2 separate regions of the Homo sapiens genome follow, and region 2 is linked to region 1. Evidence: promoter capture Hi-C in human tissues and cell types (Jung and others, 2019). All regions are on one chromosome and are shown on one strand. The core of a region is centred on a gene start or on the middle of the fragment in contact, and the rest is flanking DNA. Distances in the headings are between cores, read along the strand shown.

Region 1 (2,700 bases), core at 127-2,626:
CCTAGAGACAACGTCTTTCCTCACTCCCAAGCCACTCCAGCCCTGCTGCCTCCAAGGTCAGGTTCAGCGCAAGAGTAGGCTCAGAAACAACTCCGAGCCAGTCCCTGGGTCGCTGCCCCAGAATTTAAGCCCATCCTTCAATTTCCTCAGCAGTCAAATATCCCTGGTCACTTACCTCTCCCGAGGGCAGCGCCCCGCGCTTGACCTCCTCGTAAGCGCCTACCTGCTCCCAGGTGGCCAGGAAGGCGTGGGTGGGGGTAAAGCGCGCAGAGCGCGGGAAGCCAGCGCGCACATAGCGGGCGGCCAGGCCCAGCACTGCGGGGGAGGTGTCCTCTCGGTACAGGACTCGGCCTCTGCCGTGGCTCGTGTCGATGTCCGCCAGAAAAGGGGCGATGGCCGGGAAGTCGGTGGGGAAATCATAGTCCACATACTGCGTTTCCCTGGGGAAGTCCTGAGTGGAGATGATGCCGTTGGTGCCCACCTGGGAGAGGAGAGGGACAAAAAGGTGACAGTCGCTCAAGCCCAAGGACGCTACCCTTTCGCGCAGGGAGGGAAGGGAACTGACTTAGGCAAAAAGCCTCTCTCTCCTTCCCCACTGGCCAGGGAGTCTGGATTCAGGGAAACAAGCGCAACTTTTGCGACTGTCCCAGCTCCGCGCTGCAGTAGGTCCAGGGGCCCTAAAACTCGTTCACCTATCTTCTCACTCCCCTCACAACCCCGGAGCCCCATGTCCTCGGAGAGGAAGCCTCCAGGTCTGAAGAGGGAACACCCCAGCTCCGCAGACGGGCACAGCCTTCTCGCGGTCCTAACTGCAAAGCCCGCTGGCCGCCCTAGCAACGCCACCTTTTCTGCCTGGGACGCGTACGTGGCTGCGAACAATTCTTGCTCTCCCCTCCAGGTCATTCTTGCTCCCCTACAGCAGCGGGGCAGGCAGCGGCATCGCTCTCTGGCCGGGTACCACCGCAAGGGTGCTGGGGGGCTCCAGGAGTGGGGTCTGTTTCCTCCCCTCTGGAGGCAGGGTTTCCGTGAGACCGACCCCAGGGAAGAAGCTGCGGGAAAAGTGCCAGGAGGGGGCTGAACTTACGTAGAGGTTGCTGAATCGGGCTTCGTAGAAGTGCAGGGGATTCGCCAGCTTCACCACGGCTGAGCTTTCGTCGTCGCCTTCCTGCAGGAGCTGGTCCCCCCACGACTCCCCGTGTGGGAAGAGCTCGTCTGGGTGCAGCGCCGCGGCCCGCAACATTAGCAACGGCAGCAGCAGTAGCACTGGTAACGACGACAGCACCGGCCGCCCGGCCACCCGGTCCCCCTCCATGCTCGCTCGGCCGTGCGCTTACCCGCTGCACAACGCGTCCCGCCCCGGCCTCCAGCCCACTCTCCGCGCCGCGCCAGCCTCGAACCTGGATCTCCGCGGGCGCCTGGGCGGGGCGGGACTCCAGGCCCACCCAGCAAGCTAATTGGCTGAGGCCCTCGGCTGGGGACCAATCACCGGCTCTGAGAAAGTTCGGCAGTGGCCACCACATCTGGTTCTCGTTAACTTTTCTAAGGCAGCGGCCGCTGGAGCAGCGGGGCTGGCGGGGTAAAAGCTCCTGGCCAGGGCTGCCTGGAGCTGCCCCTTCCACTCCGCCCCCAGGGAGCTCCCGGGTCATCCTCTCATCCGGGCTGCCCCGCGGCCCCCAAGGAGCCCCACCCCCGGGACCAAATGGCCCGCAAGGTTTGGGGCAGCGGCGTTGCAGGAGATGAGCTCAGCGCAAAGGGAACCCCGCAGCGGCGAGTGCGGCTGCTGGCCTGCGCGCTGTGGCCCCAACAGGCTGGCAGGGCGCGGGCGGGTGGCGGGGTTGCGGTATGAGCTTTGCTCCCTGCCCTGGGGTCCCGGGCGCTCCTGGCTCTGGAGGCCTGGCCATCGGTCCGAAAAGCAAAGGGACATTGTCGTGGTCCCCTCGGCCGCTTCGCTCCACCCAGAGACGCCCTGAGGAGAAGCGAGCCTTTGTACGAAGGCAGAGGGCTGACTCCTAAGTTCTGTCCCCCTCCCGAAGGCCGGCCGCTAGGGAAGACTTGGCCACCCTCTGGAAGTACCTTCCCCCGGGAAAACCGCAGCAGGAAAGACCATGAAATACTACTGTGTGTGATCCGCTCCGTTTGGGGAGTAGGATGAGGCATCCCGCTTGGTTACCAGGCAGAAAGGGGCGAGTCGCGGGGATGGGAAGACCCTGATCTCTTGCCCATTGCTGCGGCCGTCGGAGATGCCCTCCCCCGCGGCCACGGAGGCGGTAACCTGAGCTGCTCCGCAGGACTGGAAACCGCACAACCTCGAAACCAGCTGCGCAGGAGAAGGGGAACCCCATCCACCATAAACATCCCCTCTGCGAAGCCTCAGGAGCTGGAGGAGATTTTATTACCATTTTTATTATCAAGAGCTTAAAATTTCCCAGACAGTCTGTTTTCTCTCCCAGGCCCCCCATGAGGTCCTTAAAAGCAAAGATATTTAAAAAGAACGAAAGAAAGAAAAAAACCAAAAAGCAAATCCTTGGAAATGCCTTAAAGGACTCTCCAGAGACACACTGCTCTTTGTAGGTGTTTATTCCTATGGGCCCACTGGACCAAACGCTAAAAAACGTGAAGACATCAGACTGTGAGACTCATAGAGCAGACACAAAATGGAAAACTGGCCCAAAGCAGTTTGCTTCCTCAGAGTGGAGAGTT
Region 2 (2,700 bases), core at 92-2,591, 210 kb after region 1:
GCCAGACAAAGGCATGAATGACTGTTTTCCCCTACCCTCTTCTCACATGAAAATTATGTATTTCTCAATATCCTTCCCTTTCCCCTTTAGATATTGAAACCCTCAAAATCATCTATGGGGAAAGGAATAGACCTATCTCCCAGGTGTGTATCCTTAACTTTGGCAAATAAACCTCAAAAAATGATTGAGATTTTCCTGGGTCATTTTCCTTGATTGACCACGGAGGGATCCTGAGTGAAGGTGGCCCTGGCCTGCAGCAGCTCTCCTATTGGTACCAGATTGGGCTCTTTATAGCCCAAACCAATAAGACAATTTGTTGAGGTCTGGGACCTCCTCCCTGCAGGAAGTTGGGGCTCTGAGGTTTAATTTGATGTTTAAAAAAAAAAAAAAAACACCTCTTTTTTTTTTTCTGGGAGTTTTTGCTTGCTTCCATCAGGGAAGGCAAGCTTGTCTGCTTCTTCATCAGTGGAGAACAGTCTTCAGCTTGAGTCTCATCACTAGGTAAGGAGGTGAGTTGGGAATCTGTCTTGCAAATTCTCTTTAATAACTAAAGGTACTGTTAACAACCAGCTGGTCTTAATTTCTCCTTACATTTAGAGCACTCAAATTGTATAATTTGTGTGATTGCTGTTCGTTTTGCTTAGATGTCTTATTTACTTGTTTCTGTCTTGTTAGGTGTTTTTTTGTATGCTTCAGTCCTTCTCTTATTGGATTTGGCCAACTCTAAACCCTCTAGCTTATAGTATGGAATTTTCCTCTCCAAAGAAATAAGAGCTCGCCCTTCTCAGCCTTTCTTAGGCAACTGAGAATTACATGAGGGTGTCTGGAAGAAACACTCCCTAAGATGTGCAACGGCTCTGAGTAGGATTTCCCCTCAGAAGAACGTACTTAGGGTGTAATCTCAGCTAGCAGGTGCAAATAAGGAGCTGATCTCCCATGCCTTGAGCCCCTGACACACTGTGCCAGGTAGCCACGATACCAGTTCAGCGAGTAACGGCCCTGAAAAGCTAGGTCCCCAAGCAGCACACTTTGGATCCAACAAACCCTCCGACTTGGTCAAATCTGAAGGAAAACTCTAAATTATGTGGAAGGAGCCCTTTAAGTTGGCTGAAACCCCCACAGCTGTGGAACACAAAGTTCCACCCTTAGAAACTCTGGCCAGGTATATGCAAAAACACTTATGGTGAATTGTCATGCAAATATTTAATCAAGTGGACCACTATAATCAAGGCAGATTCTAACCTACAGAGGCCTAGATGGGGATCTTCTGAGATGCCCAAATTAGTGTACCTGTGAACTAGGATGCAAAACGCAGGCACAAAACTAAACAACCAGAATGGGAGAGCTACTTTCAATGGTACCTAGAGAGTAGCAAATGGGGGGAAGATCACCTCATGTCCTTACAATAAGCCAACAAACAACTTAGAAATGCTAACCAAGGACTCTCTAAAGTTCTATCTCTCTTAAAGAAATCCCCAGAATCCCTTACTTCCCTGTGGCACCTCCCCACCTCCACTTACACCCCCACTTTACCCCTGACCTCTCTGAACTTCCCGGACCAGATCTGTTCCCTCCTTCTCCTGCATGTTCTAATTTAACATCTTCCTCTCCTTGTACACCACTCACTCAACAGAAGGCAGTAGGGAGTCTAACTTCCAAGACCCTACCTCCTGACAATTCCCTGACAGTGCCAGTGGCAGCCTCTCATCTGGAAGATGTGGAAAAGGGGGACCCTGCAGGGCCATCTCTCATGATCACCCTGTTTTGGGAACAACCGGTAACACATAGGGGAACCCCGGTGATTGTCTACCAACGCTGGTCAAAGGCTGAGTTGCAGGGCATAAAGAATTTCTGGGCCCCCATAAGATCCAATTGAGTTTGCCCAAGAATTTGAATTCATTATCAGAACCTATGACCCAGGCCATTCAGACCTCTAACAGCTGGCACACATGTTGGTCTCGGAAGCTAAAGCTAAGGAATAGCTGGACAAAGTACAGTGGTCAGACCCTGTAGCAGACTTAACCCTTGAAGGCCCAATAGAGCTACAATAACCAGCCCCCAGAAGTCGAGAACACAGACACAAAGATGTGTGGGAATGAGCAACTGCTCTGTTAAATACCATTTCTTCAATATTCCAAAGGGTTGTGGATTGGGATAAAATCCAGCAATGCCACCAGAACCGAAATGAATCAATTTTAGATTATTTTATACATTTTGACTGAGATAATATGCTCCAAATAATTAACTTACACTCTCTCGCCTGGTCCTTCTGACGAAACCCCTCATGACTATGTTCTGATGACTGACCAACTTCTCACTTCTGGGACAGACTTACAAGAGATGCCACTGGATAATGCTGAGATAGAATGGTATACAGATGGGTCTTATTTAAGAGGATGGGGATGGAAATTTTAGAGCAGGATATGCTGTGGTCTCTTTACTAGAGGTAGTTGAAGCTGGTCCTCTTCCTCAAGCCAAATCAGCTGAAGGGGCCAAATTGATTGCCCTGACTCAAGCTTGTCGATTAGCAAAAGACAAGGCTGCAAACATACCCTGACACCTGCTAAGCATTTGGAGTTGCTCAGGACTTCGGAATGTGAAAGGAGAGAGGATATTTAACCTCCTCAGGGCAACCCATAAAAAATGGACAACCAACTCTCAGAGCTGTTAGAAACTATTCTCAACCAAAACTTTTGACAG

The links. Contacts are between HindIII fragments. The study calls those that stand out against the background at their distance.
Region 2: a contact is called between a fragment that was not itself captured here and the fragment with the promoter of NID2 in region 1, in 1 of the 25 tissues and cell types used here (mesenchymal stem cells).

Annotation. Positions count from the first base shown.
Region 1 is chr14:52,067,683-52,070,382 of GRCh38, forward strand. It overlaps NID2 (nidogen 2), which reads right to left and starts at 1,377. Exons shown (of 22, transcript NM_007361.4): 1 at 1,085-1,377; 2 at 176-481. The coding sequence starts at 1,312. It overlaps LOC105378180 (a long non-coding RNA gene), which reads left to right and starts at 1,554. Exons shown (of 2, transcript XR_943864.4): 1 at 1,554-2,700. The HindIII fragment of the contact is 10,101 bases long and covers 1-2,700 here.
Region 2 is chr14:52,280,731-52,283,430 of GRCh38, forward strand. It overlaps a transcript of PTGDR not described here. Among named protein-coding and RNA genes, the nearest start is that of PTGDR, 14 kb to the left of the region's middle. The HindIII fragment of the contact is 3,101 bases long and covers 1-2,700 here.